Regions from separate parts of the Homo sapiens genome. Here regions 1 and 3 are each linked to region 2. Evidence: promoter capture Hi-C in 16 types of primary human blood cells and fetal thymus (Javierre and others, 2016). All regions are on one chromosome and are shown on one strand. The core of a region is centred on a gene start or on the middle of the fragment in contact, and the rest is flanking DNA. Distances in the headings are between cores, read along the strand shown. Region 1 holds the start of PABPN1 (poly(A) binding protein nuclear 1). Region 2 holds the start of C14orf93 (chromosome 14 open reading frame 93). Region 3 overlaps DAD1 (defender against cell death 1).

Region 1 (4,114 bases), core at 785-3,284, 310 kb after region 2:
TAGGCAAGTTTCTTCATTTCATTAAGCCTTTTTCTTTTTCCCTAAAAAAGGTTATGGTTTTGGAAATACTTTCCCCGTGGGGTTGTTGTGAGAGTCCAGTGAAATAATAAGGAGTGGTGCTTATTACAAAATCAAACGCTCAACAAAAATAGGATTCAAAGCCATTTTTAAAAATCACATTTCCTTTTGTTGGCTTGATTAAATTGGGTACCAATAAGATTAACAAATCTTGATTAGGTTAAGATTAGTATAAAAGACCTTTCTTCCAGGGTATTCAATCATTTAGAGCTTGTCTTCGGTGCTCAACTTTAGTTATCCCAGATCACTGAAGCTGAGATGGCTGATGAAGTAATTTGCAGTGAAATTTTAAGCGACTGTGACTCTGCTGCAAGTTCCCCAGATCTTGAGGTAAGGAATTGTGAGAAAAAGTGGGGGTGAGGGGAATAGTGGGGTATAATGAGTCACTTGATTTTTTGGTTTGCTAATGAGGATCTTCTCTTGTCCAAATCCCTCGGCCAACCATGTTTGTTTAACTTTTTGGTTGGGCTATATGTATCTTTCGAACTGTAGGTTAGTGTGCCCACAAAAATTTCTCTTGCAAACGTACACTGCCATTCCTTTCTTTTTAATAAATGTGTAGGACTGCTACCAAAATATGGCAGTCCTGCCTTCCAGGGCTAGGTCTCATTGGTACTTGGGGTGCAGGGGTGTAGTGGGAACCTGCCAGGAGAAATTCCTCTGGGATCTTGGGGGCTTGAGGGCTTAAATGAAGGGTGGCACCCAAATCCCCAATCAATGCCTGTTCAATCAACAAACATCTAACAGGACATTATGTGGTAGGCATATTGCCAGGCCGTGGAGATGCGAATATAAATAGGAACCGGCCCCTCATCTGCAGGCGCTCACAACCTAGTTAGGAAACAGTAAAACAATTAAGCGCGCCGTGGAGATAGGCCCACTTGTCCTGGGAAATGAGGGGAAGCTGGGGTTTGCAGTGGTTTGATTGAAGGGGGACTACATGTTAGAGGCACAGACTGGGTGCAGGTACACCCAAAGGAACGAGAAGAGTGGAAGGAAACAACATCCACAAAGTAACCACATGCTGGCGTATCGAAGGCCGTGATTTACGGTTTTGAGACTTTACCTCGCCAGCAAAGGGGGGCCAGTCTGTTAGCGGTGCAGATTGGAGGGGTGACATTGGAAGCTGTCCAGGAAAAAGAAAATGGAACTGGGGAGCAGAAGGCCTACGCAAGAGGGCGGGACAGACAGGACTTGTGACTAGTAGCTCTGGACTGAGGAATCCTCCCTGCTTTCTGGTGCGGGAGAGCTAGTGGATGATGGTGCCAATAACCTGGATGGGGAAAGTAAGCTCCCTCCTGGAATGCTTCATTCACAACCTCCATTTTCAGCAACATCCCATCTACTGGTGCTTCCTGGTCGAGATACAAGTTTCCTGAAACTGCTGCTCTGTTTTGGGCCTCACCCGGCCAACAGCTCACTAGCTGGCAAGCAGTAGTATCAAGATGGCGGCCCCCTAGGACTGGCTAGTCATGTGACCTCGGGTTTCCCAAGTTTGAAGCCCGGCAGTCCTTTCGGGGGCAAGGTTCACCTGTCACGAAACGAGTGTCACCCCTTCGACTCTCGCAAGCCAATCGGCATCTGAGACTGGGCCACTGCGGTGAGGCGATCGGAAGATTGGTCCTTTCCAGTCGCCTAGCTAGGGCCAATCACGGAGCGTCCCATACTTCGCGGGCCCGCCCGTAGGCCGGGGAGAAGCAGGAATATCGTCACAGCGTGGCGGTATTATTACCTAAGGACTCGATAGGAGGTGGGACGCGTGTTGATTGACAGGCAGATTTCCCCTACCGGGATTTGAGAATTTGGCGCAGTGCCCCGCCTTAGAGGTGGGGCCTTATTTGATTGCCAAGTAATATTCCCCAATGGAGTACTAGCTCATGGTGACGGGCAGGCAGCTTGACTAATGAGTCCTCGGCGTGGCCGGCGCAGCTCTCCAATCGCCGGGCGGCGGGCCCCAGTCTGAGCGGCGATGGCGGCGGCGGCGGCGGCGGCAGCAGCAGCGGGGGCTGCGGGCGGTCGGGGCTCCGGGCCGGGGCGGCGGCGCCATCTTGTGCCCGGGGCCGGTGGGGAGGCCGGGGAGGGGGCCCCGGGGGGCGCAGGGGACTACGGGAACGGCCTGGAGTCTGAGGAACTGGAGCCTGAGGAGCTGCTGCTGGAGCCCGAGCCGGAGCCCGAGCCCGAAGAGGAGCCGCCCCGGCCCCGCGCCCCCCCGGGAGCTCCGGGCCCTGGGCCTGGTTCGGGAGCCCCCGGCAGCCAAGAGGAGGAGGAGGAGCCGGGACTGGTCGAGGGTGACCCGGGGGACGGCGCCATTGAGGACCCGGTGAGGGAAGGAGGGCGAGCGAGCAGGCCGGCGGCTGGCCGGCCGGGTCACTGGAGGCCCAGAGCTCGGGCGAGCGGGTGGCAGGCGGGGGGTGGGGTTGGGCGGGGAATAACGTGGCTGGGGCCGGGTCGGGCCGGGGATGGGTCAGCGATCACTACAAGGGGCCCGACTGGCTTGATTCGGGCGTCACGGTTGCCTAGTGTTGTTCTAGAGAGGGTAGCTTTTCTTTTATCACGACCCTCGCATGGGGCGAGGGAAATGGCCGAGCATGGCTGAGGCCGCGCTCTGGCCGAGAGCAGGGCACAGCCCCTGCGTTGGTTCCTCTTAAGCTGTCCTCCATACCCTCCCCACTTATATTAGGAGCTGGAAGCTATCAAAGCTCGAGTCAGGGAGATGGAGGAAGAAGCTGAGAAGCTAAAGGAGCTACAGAACGAGGTAGAGAAGCAGATGAATATGAGTCCACCTCCAGGCAATGGTGAGTAACTGGCGGTTGCACGCGGAGCCCGGGTTCTCGGGTTGGAAGGGTTGTGGGGAGGATGGGGAATGTGGGGTTAGATACTCGGCACCCTGGAGCTGCTTGTCTGAGCTATTATGACTGTGCCGCGGTCATAGTCCGTTGTGTGTTCCTCTGACCTTTGTGAGGCAGAACGTATATTTTGGTGGTGGTAGCCTTGTGCCTCCCTTTGTGCCTGTTATAATTGTGTTGCTCTTTGTTCTTAGTCTACGTCTATCTTTCTTTGTAGAGGTTGCGTGCTCGCATTTGACCTTCAAATCTAATAGTTTTTCCTCCAATTGGAGACGCTTTAGGATTCTAAGAGAAAGCAAGCTGCAAGGGGTTTCCCCTTTAATCTAGAAATGTGGAGTCTCAGCCCACTTAATTTTGCTCACTCTTAAAAGCATTTCAACCAAAGCCATTCATTAGGGATTTGATTTGGAGGCAGGAGGGATTCCTATACTGTTTTAAGTGTGTATTAATTCTTTCAATTTATTGAATATTTAGTGAGTACCTGCTATGCACTAGGCACTATTCTCGGTTGTGGGTACAGCAGGGAACAGCACAGACCAAAATCTTTGCCTTCACTGAGCTTATGGGATAGTGCTGGTGGTGGAAGTGCAACATATTGGTCAAGTAGAAAACAAGTGTGTGGTTTTTGTAAAAAATTATTTTTTCCTGATAGCTGGCCCGGTGATCATGTCCATTGAGGAGAAGATGGAGGCTGATGCCCGTTCCATCTATGTTGGCAATGTACGTACTGGGGCTCTGACTGGGGTTGGGGGCAAGTTCTTCTTTTGGGGAATTATTTAATAGTCCTGAAAGGAACATCTCCGGGATAGATGTGGTTTTGGGTGTGGAGGGAGTGTGGGAAGGAGGTTAAAGGTAATGGAATGATCAGTAATCAGCAAAGGCTCTGGGTTTGGAAGGAAAAGAGATTAATTCCTCAAATTACCAGATTTCATGTGCTTTGGTGTATGATGGCCCAGACCAAAGGCTCGGGAGGGTTCCTTTTGAGACAGGAATTTGCCTGGTGCCTGTGAAATTTTTCTCCTCTCATCAGGTGGACTATGGTGCAACAGCAGAAGAGCTGGAAGCTCACTTTCATGGCTGTGGTTCAGTCAACCGTGTTACCATACTGTGTGACAAATTTAGTGGCCATCCCAAAGGGTAAGTAAAGGGGAGTAAGTTGAGATAATTTAAATTACAGTGTACAAATAGAT
Region 2 (4,154 bases), core at 608-3,107:
AAGCACTGGTCTGACTTGAATTGTTAGAGAATAAAAATACACTCAGCACAAGTAAGAAACCCAGAAAGCCCAAACAGGGCCACTTTTGTTATAAATTTGTACAAGTAACTTTATTGCAGTCAGTATTTAGGAGTCAAATACTGCTTGAAATAGAGTAGGATGCTAGCTGTGTAATAGAAATGCATTATTATACAGAAGTTTTGTTGTAATGAAATTTAAATTCTACAGTAGATTTTTTTTTTTGTCTCCTGGTTGTCACTGCATTTGTGACATTCCAGTTTCTCCCTCAGCACCTCATATACCTCCTATGCTTTCACTCCAATCTGCGAATACAAATTTGGATACAGATATTTTCCATACAACTTCTAATGAGGAGATAGTGATTCTGTAACAGAATGAAGTGAAAATAGGGCTCCTATAACAGGAGGTTCTGCTCTGCGAGCCTGTTTTTCTCTAATTCATATACTTTTTTCTGTGACTCTTAGAAATGAGAAGCTTTCCATTCTAAAAATGCAACATGATAACCAAAAGGCATTTCTTATCCCTTCTATTATTTGCCTTTGCATCCTCTTGGCTCCCCATCACCATCACCATGAACAGTTTTTGAGAATTACACTTGACTGGATTTTTTTCCTGATACTTTGCCAGCTGTGGAGCTTTTCGAATATTCCAACCAATAAACGACCATTTTGTCAAAAAGCCAAGAAAGAACTTCCCTTCTGAACACACCAACCAAACCACACATAAAGGCCAAAATATACACAGCTGTACACTTAAGAACGTGAGACAATAAAAAGCAAAACCACTTAGGCAAAACAGTCACTGAAGGCTTTGAACCACAGATTCAATAAATTGCCTACTCTCATTTGCCACATGGACTATATACTCCTTGGCAATTATTTAATTATTCATTATTCTGATCCTTTAGGAGCAGAAAAATATAGTAAATGCACATAGAAAGTGCCTAAGTATGCTAAGCATAGGATTTCTTCTAAGCTCTGCTTTGCACACAAAATATTTTGATCACATTTGGGAAGACAACGGAAAAAAATTCACATCCTAGGGGATACTTTGCACACATAAAACCAGATATATTTATCACTTTTGAAAATAAAATCTGATATGGCACATATACACACATATTGTACATATACACAAATAACCCCAAGTTATAACTTTACAAATTTGTTTCAAGAAACACACACACACACACACAAATGTTCTAATGAAAATGTGTGTGAAAGACACACTGTAATTAAGGTCTTTCCCCCTTCCCTAGGGAAATGAATGTCTCCATTATAATATCCCAATATTAACTTATTGGCCTTGGACAAGTGCCACATCCCAGCCACTTGGTTTTGGTTCTGGGGGGGTGGGTGTGTAAAAAGCACGCAAACGGCTTTATGAGGGAGCCTCAAATCTCTCTGCTTCCTTCGATGTTGCCTGTGGCAGAAATTTACATTATCCCTTCAGCCCGCTTAAAAAATTCTGTACTTCCCAAGCGGCTAAATTTTTAAAGTCCCTCAACCACAAAAATCTACCAGTTCTTAAAATGTGATTTAAAAAAAAGAAAAAAAAACTATAAATTTGGCCGGAAACGGTTGTACACGGCCATCCTGCTTCTCAACTTCTTGGTATATTTAAAACCTTGACCAGGAAAAAGAAAGAGGAAGAGAGACAGAAAAAGAAATGGGGGAAAGAGCAAATTCCCCTTAGCAACAGTTTCCTCACCCCAACACTGCTACAGATCTCTATTTTTAAAAAATTTGAAAACACACACAAGATTAAGGAGGAAAAAAAATGGAAAAAGGATACCCGAAGGTCGTATGGCTCTTTGTATTCGTGTGTGTGCAAAAAGGAGGACTCGCGGAGCCCGAGCCGGCAAGCCCCGCCCCTCCCCGGACGCCCTCCCGGATTGGCCGTCCGCGGCCGCGGGGCGCCCCGCCCGCAAGCACACGCGCCGCGCCCGAGGCGCCAACCCCGGAGTTGGGGGCGGGGGGGGCCCTGAGGGCCGCCGGACCCCCGACCCCCAACCTCGCCTGGACCTTGGCAGACCCCTTTCCCACCTCTCTCCCTTTCACTTTCTCACCGTCCTGTCACCCTTTCCCATCTTTTTTTCTCAGTGAAACAAGGCCCAGTCACCAGCATAACAATCCAGTGAGCGACCTCCGGACACTTTGTTAAATTGAGTGAACTAGTCAGTAACATTCTAGACTGCAATTAAACATCAGGGACTTGGTGCGTGGGCCCTACTCCGGTTTCCAGGTGAAATGTCTCTGGGTCACGTGTGTTGCTTAACACCCCCACGTTTAAATGAACATTCACGTATGGAACATCTTTCTGAAGTCTTACACTTCAGCCCGAGCTCCCAGTTTATCTACCTGGCTCAGACCACATTCTCAAAACTAAAGTGGCTCCTCTTTATTTCCAGGAAGACAGCTGGTATACCTGGATTTTAAGCCACCCATAATCTGGTCCCACCCACCTATTTGTTATTTATTTATTTATTTAGACAGAGTCTCGCTCTGTCACCCAGGCTGGAGTGCAGTGGTATGATCTTCGCTCACTGTAAACTCCGCCCCTCCGCCCCCACCCCCACCCCCACCCCCACCCCGCCCAAGCGATTCTCCTGCCTCAGCCTCCCAAGAAGCTGGGACTACAGGCGTGCGCCACTGCACCCAGCTAATTTTTTTTGTTTTTGGTAGAGACAGGGTTTCGCCATGTTGGCCAGGCTGGTCCTGAACTCCTGACTTGAGGTGATGTGCCCACCCTGCCTTTTTTTTTTTTTTTTCAGTGATGTGATCTCGGCTCACTGCAACCCCCACCTCCGAGGCTCAAGCGATTCTCCTGCCTCAGCCTCCCGAGTAGCTGGGATTACGGATATATGCCACCACGCCCGGCTATTTTTTTTTTTTAAGTAGTGACGGGGTTTCACCATGTTGGCCAGGCTGGTTTTGAGCTCTTGACCTCAAGTTATCCTCCCGCCTTGGCCTCCCAAAGTGCTGGGATTACAGGCGTGAGCCACCGCGCCTGGGCACATATTTGTTCTTAGTTCCCTCTACGCTCGTCTTATCAATCTTGTATTATTCCTTTACTCAAGTGGCTTTTTTTTTTTTTTTTGGCCTGAATTATGCGTCTCCCCTTCCCTGACTGGTCAATTTTTATCCATTCTCTTTCAGCACAGACTGCTTACTTCCTTCTCTCCGCTCCCATCAACATGAATTTCATGTGTACTCCAGTTAGCGGCACGTAACTCTACCTTGATTCACATATTTTAGTAATTTCACTCCAGTAAACTGTTTGAGGTCAGTGATCATATCTTAAAATTGTTTTTCCATCCAGGAACTGTTTGATTCTTACTGCAGTAGCTGGCATAATTGTAGATATTTAGTAAACACTGACCAAAAAAATCATTTATTTATTTATATTTATTTTTGAGCTGGAGTCTCGCTCTGTCGCCCAGGCTGGAGTGCAGTGGCCCGATCTCGGCTCACTGCAAGCTCCACCTCCCAGGTTCACGCCATTCTCCTGCCCCAGCCTCCCGAGTAGCTGGGACTACAGGCGCCCGCCACCAAGTCTGGCTAATTTTTTGTATTTTTAGTAGAGACGGGGTTTCACCGTGTTAGTCAGGATGGTCTGGATCTCTTGACCTCGTGATCCACCAGCCTCAGCCTCCCAAAGTGCTGGGATTACAGGCGTGAGCCACCATGCCGGGCCAAAAATCATTTATGATCAAATAAGTGAATTTCTTTTCTAGCTAAAACACAGATTCTGAAACTCACATCTCACAAGAATTTCCCTTCTATAGTAAGTAGCAATTTGTGAACACTTATTGTGCAGGAAGTAACTGTTCTGAACACTTTATGTGCATCAATTTAGGTATTATTATTATTATTTTTTTTTTTTATTTTTTATTTTTCGAGACAGAGTCTTTCTCTGTCGTCCAGGCAGGCGGATCACGAGGTCAGGAGTTCGAGACCAGACTGACCAACATGGTGAAACCCCGTCTCTGCTAAAAATACAAAAAGTTAGCTGGGCATCGTAATGCGCACCTGTAGTCCCAGCTACTTGGGAGGCTGAGGTAGGAGAATTGCTTGAACCCAGGAGGCAGAGGTTGCAGTGAGCCAAGATTGCGCCACTGCACTCCAGGCTGG
Region 3 (4,487 bases), core at 926-3,425, 450 kb before region 2:
AGAAAACAAGAGAGATGGTTTCCATGTGATAGGGGCCAGGAAATGTGTGGGCAGGAGGTGCTCAGGGCTGGGCTTCCCACCACTGCAAAGAATGGCAGGGAATAGACTTTCCACAGTGTTTGTGGTGAATGGCTTCCGGCCCCATAAAAGAGCACAGAAAATAAAAATAAACCACCCCATAGAGGTGTTGAGCAAGGGGGAGCAGGAAATGCTAGGGTCTACCTCACTCTCCATGCAGTAGTACTCAAAATCAACTCCTTCAACATACTTCAGCTGAAAAAACACCTAAGAATCAGAAACGCAATGGGGCTTGGGGGTGTGTCTTTAAGTTCAAGACAGGGTCTTGTTCTGTTGCCCAGACTGAAGCGCAGTGGTGCAATCATGCAGTCTCTACCTCCTGGGATCAAGTGACTCTCCAAACTCAGCCTCCCGAGTAGCTGGGACTACAGAGGTGCACTGCCACGCCCAGCTAATTTTTTTAATTTTTGTAGAGACAGGGACTCACTGTGTTGCCCAGGCTGGTCTTGAACTCCTGGGTTCAAGCCATTCTTCCACCTTGGCCTCCCAAAGTTCTGGGATTACAGGTGTAAGCCACTGAGCACCTGGCGCTTTTTCAGTGTTGTCTTTTTTTTTTTTCTTTTTGTGATGAAGTTTCGCTTCTGTTGCCCAGGGTGGAGTGCAATGGCACAATCTCGGCTCACTGCAACCTCCGCCTACCAGGTTCTAGCAATTCTCCTGTCTCAGACTCCTGAGTAGCTGGGATTACAGGCTCATGCCACCACGCCTGGCTAATTTTTGTATTTTTAGTAGAGACAGGGTTTCATCATATTGGTCAGGCTGGTCTCCTGACCTCAGGTGATCCACCCACCTCGGCCTCCCAAAGTGCTGGGATTTACAGGCATGAACCACCATGCCTGGCCTCTTTTAAGAACAGGGTCTTACATTGTTGCCCAGGCTGGAGTGCAGCGGCTACTCACAGGTCCACAGCTAATTCTTCAGTACATGTCAAATTGAGAACCATAAAGCAAATCAACAGAAGCATAAAAACAAGAGTTACCTATAATGAGCCTTTAACTAAATCTAATCCCAACACTCCAAAAGCAGTCTGTAGGTTTTAGCCCCGAAGCAAATATTGAAAAGACACACCAAAGAAGAATGTTTCCTGTTGATGGTAACTGGCTTGGGTAAATCACAACCTCTGAGACAATAGCTGACCTGGTAAATGGGAATTTAATACCTGTCCCATGTATCTCAAGATCATTATGAAAAATTAAACAAAACCTATGTATTAAAGACTGCAATTACAATGTCTTCCTTCATAAAATTACTATTATTCCCAGTTTTCAACCCGTGTCTCAAAGTCCAGATGCTTTTCTTATTCAAAATTCCAATTTCTCTAGACTAAAAATTATCCAGAAGCCTCCTGATAGGGTCTGTGACATCTGTATATAAGTTTTAGAACAGATTAGGCCAGGCACAGTGGCTCACGCCTATAATCCCAGCACTTTGGGAGGCTGAGGCGGGCAGATCACCTGAGGTCAGGAGTTTGAGACCAGCCTGACCAACATGGAGAAACCCTGTCTCTACTAAAAATACAAAAATTAGCCGGGCATGTTGGTGTGCACCTATAATCCCAGCTACTCGGGAGGCTGGGGTGGGAGAATTGCTTGAACCCAGGAGGCGGAGGTTGCAGTGAGCCGAGATCACACCATTGCACTCCAGCCTGGGTAACGAGAGCAAAACTCCATCTCACAAAAACAAAAAAGAAAAAAAAAAGTGCAGATTAAACTGCTCAGTTATAATCTCAATGAACTAGTATCACTTAAGAATGGCAAACCATGACCCACATAGCCACAACCAATTTTTATAAATAAAGTGATAGTGGAATATAGCCATGCCCATTTGTTTAAGGAAAAGCTTGCGGACTCCTGACTCAGTGTGTTACCAGTTAGGCAGAGAGCTAATAAGAAACATACAGGCCCAAGCTTTTCACCAAGTTCCTAGGTAATCTTGAGACATGCCAAACTTTGAGAACCACTGCTGTAGATGAGAGATTCTCAAATCTTATTGTGCACATAAATCACCGGAGGACCTTGTTAAAATGAAGATGTTGCTTCTGTAGGTTTGGGGTGAGGCCTGTGCTCCCAGGCGATGCCAATACTGGTAGTCAATGACTACATTTTGAGTAGCAAGAATCCAGAGCAGTGTTTCTCCAATTTGCTGTGCTCTGGAATCACCTGGGTAGCTTTACAAACTACAGAAGCCACCCCAAGAGATTTTTACTTAATTGGTGTGGGTTGTGGCCTGGACGTTGGGATTTTCTTTTTACATTACCCAAGTCATGCTAACGTGCAGCCAAGTTGGAGAAGCTTGAAACTCATCATTCTCGGTAGTTGGCTAAATTTAAGTAGTGGCATTCTCAACATAGCTTCCGCCCCATATATAGCAACCCAACAGCACCCAAGATGAAAACAGGGCTGCGAACATGACAGACTTCAGCCAGCAGACCTACATTCCATCCAAGCTTTGTCATGAACTCTGATCTTAAGCAAGTCACAAATCTGAGTTTCAATTTCTTCACCTAACTAATGAGGACAGGAACCCCTAAGATAATTGCAAGAATAAAATGAGAGAATATTTGTGAAGGTGCTTTGGAAAATATTGTATCTTATAAGTCAACACATACATAACCCCCATTTTTCACTCTGTCTACATTGCCTAAGAGAAATATATTTCACTTTTACCACTAAAACATGTTGAAACAGATGTAAATGTGGTAGCACATACTTAGTTCAATTTCTAGCAGAGTGCATAATGATGCAGTTCCAGGAATGCACTGTCATAAGAGTGGAAGCACCTGTAACAATCGAAGGATTAGTAAAGGATTACCTGCTCCAGGAAGAAGACAAAGGACTGCCATTTCCCAGGGTTGTCAGCACTGCCTTTTGCCATTAACTTCAAATATACTTAATGAAAACAAGGAGGCAGGTTCACAGCTGTAAGTTACCAACTCATAAAGAGTTCAGCACAGAGGACTGAAGAGAAAAAAAGGATTCTGATACCAGCAAAGAATAAAAACAGAGCCAGAGGCATATGGAGGAGTGGCATGGAGTTCTTTAATTTGGAAGGCAAAAGGTTACATTTAATGAAAGGCAGAGGCTGGATTAATAAATGTTTGTTAGAAAGTTGTTCTGACACACAGTGAACTCTGGGCTTTTCTCCTGCATAAAAAGCAGAGCTAGCAGTAAGTGCAAATCTGAAGAAAATCCATGTGTCCAATAAGCTGCCATCTCCAGAACTCTTATCCAGGAAATTCAAAGAGTGAACCTAGAAGAAAAAAGCAGCAAGGTTAAATGTCTTATGATACTAGAGACAGGGCCCCAAATCCTTCCATCTAAATTCTAACCCACAAGACAGTTATGGGGTTCCCACACTCAGGACAATATTTAAACCAGGCGAGAAAAACTAGAAAGAAGCAAGTATTTTTCAAAGAACATTTTATGGGAGTAGTATCCAGAAAAATTAATGTCAAAACTGAATTTCAAGCACATCAAAGCAAAACGAACTAGGAACTGTGAGACATGTGTCCTAACTCCAGCTCTACCATTAATTAGCCGCAAGACTTCACATAAGTCACTGACTTCCCTGGCCCACAAATTCTTTGAGGTGAGAGGGTTGTAGTTTAACCTAAAGAGCTTTCTGGAATCTAAAATGCTTATGAAGCACAGATTTCCATTGGTGGGGAGGCAGGGTAGGGAAGTAAGGATTCAAGAAAGAAAGAAAAATTCCCAATCTCAGCTATAACAAAGGACCAAAATATAAGAAATAATTTAGTTTTCATTTAAAGATAAGTTTATTTTTGGCAAGAAAAAGGTGAAGAAAGAGTAACCGCAACAGAAGTGGCCACATTGCTGCTAGAGCCAAATGGAACTGAGATCTGTAACTTGTGAGGTGGAACCCTCACCACAAGATACAGGCTTCCTTTAGTCCCTCAAAGCACAGCCTCCCACCTACTGGACTCCAGCACAGCTCTGGTTGGAAAGTGACCTCCAGCCTTAGGGGCTCCAATGTCTCCAGCTATAAGCAACTGATTTTCCCAGTGTGCCATAAAAATACTGCAATCTCCTACGTGTACCATGACTCAAAAGAGGCTGGGAAATACTACCTTTCAGAAGAACCGGGCTGCCCCAGGAGGAAAAAGGGCACTACCTTATTTGGTATATTGGGTCAAGTAAGTAACCTGGAGATTCTGGCATCAGAACTTAAAGGAGAGATTTTGGACTTTCAGCCAGAATGCTTTTATTTCACTAACACTGGTATTTACAGAAATGCTACATAATTGCAGAACATTCCTGAATCAGTGGTATTATAAGAAATGTATAAAAGAAAGAGCAATAACAGGAAGCAAAAGGTGTTCACAGTGCCAAACAAAACCAAACAGACCTATTCAAACTCACCTATTCATTCCATCAAATTTCTTAAAGCAA

The links. Contacts are between HindIII fragments. The CHiCAGO score rates a contact against its expected background, and 5 or more counts as called.
Region 1: the fragment with the promoter of PABPN1 here is called in contact with the fragment with the promoter of C14orf93 in region 2 in 1 of 17 cell types (neutrophils); the score reaches 5.3 in neutrophils.
Region 3: a contact is called between a fragment that was not itself captured here and the fragment with the promoter of C14orf93 in region 2, in 4 of 17 cell types (naive CD4 T cells, erythroblasts, total B cells and 1 more). The highest score is 7.6, in naive CD4 T cells.

What each region holds. Positions count from the first base shown.
Region 1 is chr14:23,319,423-23,323,536 of GRCh38, forward strand. PABPN1 (poly(A) binding protein nuclear 1) reads left to right here and starts at 2,035. Exons shown (of 7, transcript NM_004643.4): 1 at 2,035-2,398; 2 at 2,759-2,873; 3 at 3,577-3,644; 4 at 3,955-4,061. The coding sequence starts at 2,048. It overlaps BCL2L2-PABPN1 (BCL2L2-PABPN1 readthrough), which reads left to right. Exons shown (of 8, transcript NM_001387346.1): 4 at 2,759-2,873; 5 at 3,577-3,644; 6 at 3,955-4,061. RefSeq lists enhancers at 1,126-1,776, 1,465-1,534, 1,788-2,599, 2,600-3,409 and silencers at 1,935-2,364, 2,425-2,494. The HindIII fragment of the contact is 8,249 bases long and covers 1-4,114 here.
Region 2 is chr14:23,008,286-23,012,439 of GRCh38, forward strand. C14orf93 (chromosome 14 open reading frame 93) reads right to left here and starts at 1,858. Exons shown (of 7, transcript NM_021944.4): 1 at 1,816-1,858. It overlaps LOC124903286 (a long non-coding RNA gene), which reads left to right. Exons shown (of 2, transcript XR_007064075.1): 2 at 1-699. RefSeq lists an enhancer at 1-219 and a silencer at 1,847-2,196. The HindIII fragment of the contact is 8,647 bases long and covers 494-4,154 here.
Region 3 is chr14:22,561,811-22,566,297 of GRCh38, forward strand. It overlaps DAD1 (defender against cell death 1), which reads right to left. Exons shown (of 3, transcript NM_001344.4): 3 at 3,097-3,327. Among named protein-coding and RNA genes, the nearest start is that of LINC02332, 7.0 kb to the left of the region's middle. RefSeq lists an enhancer at 101-180. The HindIII fragment of the contact is 384 bases long and covers 1,984-2,367 here.